Linked DNA regions of Homo sapiens: regions 2 and 3 are each linked to region 1. The links are contacts of gene promoters, found by promoter capture Hi-C in blood cells and fetal thymus (Javierre and others, 2016). All regions are on one chromosome and are shown on one strand. Each heading gives the region's core, a stretch centred on a gene start or on the middle of the fragment in contact. The rest is flanking DNA. Distances are from core to core; before and after follow the strand shown.

What was found. Contacts are between HindIII fragments. The CHiCAGO score rates a contact against its expected background, and 5 or more counts as called.
Region 2: a contact is called between the fragment with the promoter of B3GNT5 here and the fragment with the promoter of KLHL6-AS1 in region 1, in 2 of 17 cell types (M2 macrophages and activated CD4 T cells). The highest score is 6.6, in M2 macrophages.
Region 3: a contact is called between the fragment with the promoter of ABCC5-AS1 here and the fragment with the promoter of KLHL6-AS1 in region 1, in 6 of 17 cell types (M0 macrophages, erythroblasts, megakaryocytes and 3 more). The highest score is 8.6, in M0 macrophages.

The regions. Positions count from the first base shown.
Region 1 is chr3:183,547,430-183,550,129 of GRCh38, forward strand. It overlaps KLHL6-AS1 (KLHL6 antisense RNA 1), which reads left to right and starts at 1,306. Exons shown (of 2, transcript NR_046687.1): 1 at 1,306-1,534. All of the region lies in intron 1 of KLHL6 (kelch like family member 6), which reads right to left. The HindIII fragment of the contact is 1,687 bases long and covers 979-2,665 here.
Region 2 is chr3:183,251,866-183,254,565 of GRCh38, forward strand. B3GNT5 (UDP-GlcNAc:betaGal beta-1,3-N-acetylglucosaminyltransferase 5) reads left to right here and starts at 1,388. Exons shown (of 2, transcript NM_032047.5): 1 at 1,388-1,607. All of the region lies in intron 15 of MCF2L2 (MCF.2 cell line derived transforming sequence-like 2), which reads right to left. LOC124906310 (a long non-coding RNA gene) reads left to right here. Exons shown (of 3, transcript XR_007096189.1): 3 at 670-690. The HindIII fragment of the contact is 12,746 bases long and covers 866-2,700 here.
Region 3 is chr3:184,005,053-184,007,752 of GRCh38, forward strand. ABCC5-AS1 (ABCC5 antisense RNA 1) reads left to right here and starts at 1,286. Exons shown (of 3, transcript NR_046570.1): 1 at 1,286-1,409. All of the region lies in intron 2 of ABCC5 (ATP binding cassette subfamily C member 5), which reads right to left. RefSeq lists a silencer at 1,965-2,014. The HindIII fragment of the contact is 257 bases long and covers 1,220-1,476 here.

The sequences.
Region 1 (2,700 bases), core at 56-2,555:
TTTGTCTACCTTTTCTCACATGCATATCTTTCCATAGTTTACATGCAATTTTGCATCTTGCTTTGCCCCCTGTTTTCATTATAATATTTTTCCTACGGTGCTCCATGCTTTTCATAATGACTATTTATTATATTGCTACCAATTTCAACAGAGGCATAATATGAAAATCATTCTCTCACTGTGGACATTTAGGTTGCTTCCAGTATTTTGTTTTTATACGTGACGTGGTAATCTTTGCATTAAGCATTTTTTCCCAGTTTGGAATATGGACGGCCTACATTTTTTCAGGCACTTTGCTGGATTCTTTTTATTTCATTCAGTCTTCATAATATCAAGTAGATAGCATGGTGTCCATTTCATCCTTGGGGGAGCTCACTTTGATGGGAAGAGTGGTTTCCCCATGATGTCTAAACTGAAAACAGGCCTCTTCACAGAGAACAGAAATGTGGCTAACAGGTCATTTCCTATGACCCCTCAGCTCCCCAAGACTCTTTTGCTAGTGTAGGCTACATAAGCTGAAAATGAGGAGGAAATGTAAAAATCAGAGCCTCCTTGTGCTCATACACACATGCACAGGCAGGATACTGTTGGAACATTCATTCCAGTTTATGTCTGGGGGCTGAGCTGACAGACCCCCATAGCAGCAAGGACCCAGCATGCCTTAGGACATCAGTCTGGATCAAAGGGTTAAAAAAGAGACAAGGAAGCAGGGTCAGGGTGTGCAAGGTGAAAAGACAGTGCGCTCTGAAAATATATGGGACCTCACTGTGGCTAGAACCAGAAACTGGTTCTCACCATTTGGGAAGCCCAGCTCACTGCAAAATATGGCACACTCTGTAAGTGACAGTGACCTGTGAGGGCAGCCCTGCTGTGATTCCCAGGGTTGGCAGAGGGAGGGGAGTCCTAGTGATGAGGGGAGGGGTTATCAGGCTTTTCTCTGCCCTGTCTCATGACTGGCCCTTCCTTCATGCATAGAAAAGCTTCCAGGCTGAGGCTGAGTCATTAGCAATCTCCTTTGTTGATGCTGCTGCCTGGAATCCTTGTCTGGATTCCTGTCTCACTCCTGTCTTGTACCGCAGTCTCTAGGTCTGGTTCCTTGAGGCTATGTTGAGAGGACTTTACCCGCCAGCTACAAAAATCAGGCATAAGGCCAGGAATGGGAAGGTTATTGTGAGCACAATCTATGCACTTGTTAATCATTATTACATATTAACCAATTACTGCATGGCAGAAAAGTGGGGCAAGAGACTACTCTTAAGCCACATGTAGATGTTGTAATCCTGAGCTTTGTCTCCATAATGGGGTAAGATGTCAGAAAAGAGTCAGAAAGCCCAGGTGATAGAATAAGTGCCAAGAACATATACACCATGGAATACTGTGCAGCCATAAAAAGGAATGAGTTCATGTCCTTTGCAGGGACATGGATGAAGCTGGAAACCATCATTCTCAGCAAACTAACACAGCAACAGAAAACCAAACACCGCATGTTCTCACTCATAAGTGGGAGTTGAACAATGAGAACACATGGACACAGGTAGGGGAACAACACAACCCGTGGCCTGTCGGCGGGTGGGGGACAAGGGGAGGGAGAGCATTAGGAAAAATACTTAATGCATTCAGGGCCTAAAACCTAGATGATGGGTTGATAGGTGCAGCAAACCACCATGGCACGTGTATACCTATGTAACAAACCCGCGCATTCTGCACATGTATCCCAGAACTTAAAGTAAAATTTAAACAAATTTTAAAAAAGAGAATAAGTGCCAAGAAAAACAAGAATGAGTTAAGGCCATGTAGGTCTGTATTAAAAATCTGGCTAACAGCAAATGTGTTGAGGATTGCTGCTGCCACAGTGGGTACACTTGAGAACTCAAGTGAAGCCAATGATTGTAACACCAGGGTCAGGCCCTATATTTTCCACTTTTAATATTTTCCAATATTGTGGATCAGAACCAATATGATAGTAAATATTTCAGCATTATATATCTATAATCCCTTATCTGTAGTTTCAAAATTCCCAAAGTGCTGATAAATGTAAAGTTTTTTGTAACTTATTTCATGGCTAAATCCAACTTGAATGGCACTCGTCAGGTCGGGACACCTGAGTCTTGCTCTGTTGCCCCGGCTGGAGTGCAGTGGCATGATCTTGGCTCACTGCAACCTCCGCCTCCCAGATTCAAGCAATTCTCCTGCTTCAGCCTCCCGAGTAGCTGGGACTACAGGCATGTGCCACCACGCCCAGCTAATTTTTTGTATTTTTAGTAGAGATGGGGTTTCACCATGTTAGTGCTTGACTCTTAAATAGGAACAGATATCCAAAGACTACCAGATATTTAAGTATAGCCTCTAAAATAAAAGACAGAGGCCAGGTGTGGTGGCTCATGCTTGTAATCCTAGCACTTTGGGAGGCCGGGTCAGGAGGATCCCTTGAGCCCAGGAGTTTGAAACTATCTGGGCAACATAGGGAGACCTTGTCTCTAGGAAATAAATAAATACATACATAAAATAGAATAAAAGAGACAAAAACAAAGAGAAAAATACAGTGAAAACAAACAGTAAAAAACAAACAAAAACAGAAGAGTGGTTTTTTAAAAAATATAAACCTCAAAGAGATTAAGTGAAAATATGACCTATACAAAACAAGAACAGGATGTTATAAAAAGGAAGCTTCATACATAAAACAAGAAAAAAGTCTTGGAA
Region 2 (2,700 bases), core at 138-2,637, 300 kb before region 1:
TTCTGGACTACTTGACCTTGCCTATCTCTCCTTCACACCCTCTCATCTCTCCCTCCTACCACCAAAAAACTTGCATCGTATTTCCAATCTCCAGACATACTTTTGAAACCATTTATCTATCTGGTGTGTTTATCTGTATCTAGTATGATGTGAATATGTGATTTGTATGTGTGTCTACCACTGTTTTGGTCAGTTTGTATTTCTCGTGGGTACAGTTCTATGTGCTCATGTATGTGGAACATATGTATACTGACACATGGACCTAGCTCCAAATGATCTGAAAGGAATATAATTGTAATTGAATATTTGCACAGATATACAACATACACATGTGATGGCTGGGGGAAATGCATGTGGGATTTCAGTCAGCATTTTATTAGAGAAGGTATGTCATTAGTGCTGTATTAACAATGAATCAGCTTATTTGTGGGTCACTGTCAATGACTCCTTTGCAAATCACACATGTAAATATTTCTGTCTGTGGTCTGATGAACATGCAGTGCCACAGTCTGGGAGATGCTGAGCCATGCCCTGTGTAGGCAGCATATGAAAAGAACTGCATGATTTAAAAGATGCTGACCAGCTTAAGGAAAGCAATTTAAAAACTTCCTAAAAATCTAGTTTGAATGAACAACAGTTTTCATTTTGTGTGTGTGTTTTTTCTTTTAGAGATGGGGTCTTGCTATGTTGGCCACGCTGGTCTCTAACTCCTGGGATCAAGCAATCCTCCTGCGGCTCAGCCTCCCAAAGTGATGGGATTACAGGTGTGAGCCACCGTGTCTGCTGGCCCCACTGTTTTAAACCCTGATTCGACAATCATACATTTAACTCATTACCTGTCTTGTTCCTTTTACGACAAACTCAAAGCTTTTATTTTACTAAAGTATTTGGGTTAATCTTTTGCTTTTCTGTCATGTTCTGAAATATGTACAATAACAGAATCGCTCAAAATATTATCTCCGTTAAATGTTTTGTGGCTTTAGGGAGAGGTCTAACAACATGCGGGAAACAAGAAATCAAGCGCATCCAGGATTCATTTATAATCTCTCTCGTTGAGTAGAAGTCCGCATCTCTCGATATTGTCTGGTTACCTGCATGAAGTATTCTAAAGGAGGAAAATAGCTCAAAGAGGACATTCATGTGCACTCTGGCTTCCAGTTGGCCATTTGAGTAAGTGATCGCAATTAACTGACGAGCGGCAGGGAAACACTTCCTGGAATTCTCATCTACAGACAAGAACAAACTGGGGCGGGGCCCATCACCTTCACCTACGCGCCGGGAGGGTGGCGGCTGGCGGGCGGGGCCGGGCTCGGGCCGTGACGCCGAGAGTGCGGGGCGCGCGGCTGGGAGCCTCGCGCCCCCGCCCGGGCCCGCCCCCATCCCGCCCGCATACAGCCCGCATCCCGCCGGGGAAGCGAGCCCAGTCCAGCGCTGCCCGTCCAGTCCTCGCCCAAGATTTAAAGCCCGCAAGTTTTGTTCTTGAGACCAGCGACTTTAGCTCCGATGCGGGAAGGAAAGCCGACCTCCGATTTGGACATTTAAAGAGCTGGGCTTGAACTTCGTGAGTTTCGCTCTAAACTGCCCTTGAAATGAAGCTGGACTTGGAGGTAAAGTCACTGGGAAGCTGGCCTGGGGCGGGGTTTCCCCCTCTTCTCGTATTTTAGAAACGGACAGCGGCAGTGCAGCCCTAGTTTGCTGTAAGTTTCCTTACTTTGTTACTGAGGCCCCCAGAGCTCCACGCATAAGTGGTGTGACCAGAAACCTTTTAACAAGACCCGCCTGAGCCTGCGTTAGAGCTCCCGCTCGGAAAGTAAAAGACCATCCTAATCCGCGGCGCTGCGGAACCGGTGTCCCGTGTGGGAGGAACCGCGGCGTTCCCTGGGCGTAGGGCCCGCGAGGCCAGCACAGTCCGCCTCTTGGCGGAGCGCCCTGGGCCGGTGGTTCCGCGCGGAGTTAGTCTGTGGTCAGTTACGTGGTGAAAACACGGCTGTGCCGCGGCCGCATCTTTCCGCGGCCGAGGCCTCTCTGGGTGGGAGTGTTGGCTTCCTTTCCGGATCGCTAAATGGGGAAAGTTCTGGCCGCTCGGCGGGATACGTCTCCAGGCCACGGATGGTTCGTTCTCCGTGCCGCGGCCCCGAGCTGGGCTCCCTGGGTCTCCAGCGCGGGCTCCCGGCATTGGGGGCTGCGGGCCGGCCCCTCCGCCCCGCCCCCGCCCCGCCGCGCCTCCTCGGCCGAGCGGCTCGCGGTCTCCGGCGCGGGAGGCTCCGAGTCTGCCCACTCCGGGCCGAGCGAGGTCTCTGGAGGAGAAGAGTGGCGAGGAGGTGAGGGCACGCCGGCCCTCGCCCGGCGGGTGGCGCCAGGACTTCAGGTGGGAACGCGCGCTTGGGCCGGGGGCGCGTGGCTGGCGTGGACACCGGATCGGGGCCCGCCGCCCTGGCCCGGACCGCGCACGGCCCAGCGCCGGGAAGTCGGGAAGCCGGGGAGGCCTCTCCCACCGCGGGCCCCGGCAGCCCGCCCTCTGAAAGCGCGGCGGAGAAGGAGGCTCGTCCCCTCCCCGGAACGCCTTTGTTCCCTCCGGCCTGCCCGCGCGGGTGGCCAGCGGCTGGGACCCAGGCCGGGCCGCCGCCCAGGTGCGGCAGGTAGGCTCGGGGGCCGGGCAGCTCCGGTTGGGGCGGCTTCCCGGGGCCTGCGGGTCCCCGT
Region 3 (2,700 bases), core at 36-2,535, 460 kb after region 1:
CAGAGACAGGCAACAGAGCCATCATGCTTCAAAGAGGAGCCAAGTGCTGTATTCTGAGCCACCGAATTCCAGAAAGAACATCCTTGGGAAGCTCACCCAGCCCCAGCATAGTCTGCCTAGTAAGTGTCTCTCCTGGGCCTCACCTACAGAGAGGTGAGGCTAAATGGGGACTGGGCAAGACGGCCTTTGAGGTTCCATCCATCTTTTAAAGTACACATGTCAGTCTTGCTTTCTACCTCCATGAGCAGGCTTTGGTAAGTGGAAGTTCTCATCTGATATCTAGTAACAATTGATTCTTTGAACAGCTAATTCATAAAATAATCTTAAATAGTTAAAACATATATAACATCTAATTATCTAAATAGGCTAACTCCTTAAAAGGGGGGCAGGGAGGAAAAGGATAAATTTAATTCTGCTCATTAGTGGACTTCAGTGCACCAAATTAACTTCACATTAGTCTGTGAGTTTAATAATGACAGGTTTAACCATTGCAAAGCCTTCTGGAGTCCCTGTTTCTTTGCGTTGACCTTTTTATTTTTGACTAAAAGAGAGGGAAAAACGGTAAGACATTAAAAAAAGCATGAACAGGGAGGGGGGAGGGATAGCATTAGGAGATATACCTAATGTAAATGACGAGTTAATGGGTGCAGCCCACCACCATGGCACACGTATACATATGTAACAAACCTGCACGTTGTGTACATGTACCCTAGAACTTAAAGTATAATAATAACTAAAAAAAAGAAAGCATTAACGGAAACCCACCTAACTGTGGAAACAATATTTCATTGAAAAAGTTTTCATTAACCATTTGTAACTTCCAAGTTATCTTAACCAAATAAAGATTTAGGTACTTAAAAAAAAAAAAAACAGGAAGCTAATTCCAACACTTTTCTTCCCCTTTGACAGAAAGTTCCTTTAACTCATGCCAACAGGCTATATTTATTTCCCTTAAGCAGCACTTCCTAGGAAAGCCGCGGCAGTCTTGCAGCAAACGGCATAAGAGAGCTGATGATCCCGGCAGCAGCCCAACCTCAAGAGCCCCAGCGAGCTGTCAATGCAGTTACCAAGCATGAGAGCCACCTGGGCTCCACACCAATCGCACACTGTTGTTACCTCAGCCGGAGATCTCTGGGCTGCTATTGGAGACCAACACCTGGCACCAGACCAGATACGGTGTCACACCCAGCAGCGCCTAAGAGACTACTGTGCCTCATAAAGCTTTATGGATGCCTACAGGGAGAGAAGAAAAAAAAAAAAAAAAAAAGGCAGGTATTCTTACTTATCTTAACCCTGTCCAGAAAATCTGCTGAGTCACCGAGTATCAATCAAGAGAAAAATAATGCAGAGCTGCAAAATGCTAATCTCCTTCCTCCTGCTCTCCTTCCTAACAGCAAGCCGACTCACAGGTAATACTCTTGACTTGGAAAACACAAGGGCATAGACAAATTCACACGTCCTTAGTCTGTAAAGAAAAGCTTTCAGGAGCAAACTCTAAAAGTACAATGTACTAGACAAAACTATTTTATGAAAACAATGGCTGTCTCTGGGTAGAGGAATTAAGGGTGGTTACTTTTTTTCTACAACTTTACACACTTTGTACATTTTCTATAATGAGCCCATATTTCTTTCCTAACAATACATCTTCGAATCATTTCTGGTAAGAGATTAGACCCACATCTTTGATCCCTAAGATACAACTTGAGCTCACCAAAATATTTCAAAGCATTAATTATGAAAACTCCAACCAAGATTAAAGGGTCAGCCTACCACAGAACTAAGGAAATACTAAGTAAGAGCCCTGGATTTTATGAATACTTGCTTTGTTACCTTTCCTAGACACAGGATATTCTAATTTGGTAGGAAGAAAATCCCACCAATGACACACTTTTGAGAGAAGGGGAAAAAATAACTAAAGTTCATGTGCCAGTAATAATGGTACATGAACTTTAGTTTACTTCTGCTTTTTTTTTTTTTTTTTTTTTTTTGAGACAGAGTCTTGCTGTTCCCCAGGCTGGAGTGCAGTGGTGCGATCTCGGCTCACTGCAAACTCTGGCTCCCGGGTTCAAGCGATTCTCCTGCCTCAGTCTCCCGAGTAGCTGGGACTACAGGTGCATGCCACCATGCCCAGCTAATTTTTTGTATTTTTAGTAGAGGCAGGGTTTCACCATGTTAGCCAGGATGGTCTCAATCTCCTGACCTTGTGATCTGCCCGCCTCGGCCTCCCAAAGTGCTGAGATTACAGGCGTGAGCCACCACGCCCGGCCCACTTCTGCTTATTTTTCCATTCTTCCTTCTTTCCCAGATTAGACATGCTAATGAAAAACAAGGCACCCTTACCTTTGCCTGAGAGCACTAAGAAAACAAACCACCACCACAATAAAATAAAGCTCATAAAAGCATCTGACAAGCTTTGTCTTGCTTTTGCTTAAATATTAATTTAAAGCAATTAAAATCCAAACTCCTTGGCTTATTATTCAAGAACACACATGCCCAGGCGCAGTGGCTCACACCTGTAATCCCAGCACTTTGAGAGGCTGAGGCGGAGGGATCACCTGAGGTCAGGAGTTCAAGACCAGCCTGGCTAACATGGTGAAACCCCATCTCTACTAAAAATACAAACAATTAGCTGGGTGTGGTTGCATGTGCCTGTAATCCCAGCTACTTGGGAGACTGAGAGAGGAGAATCGCTTGAACTTG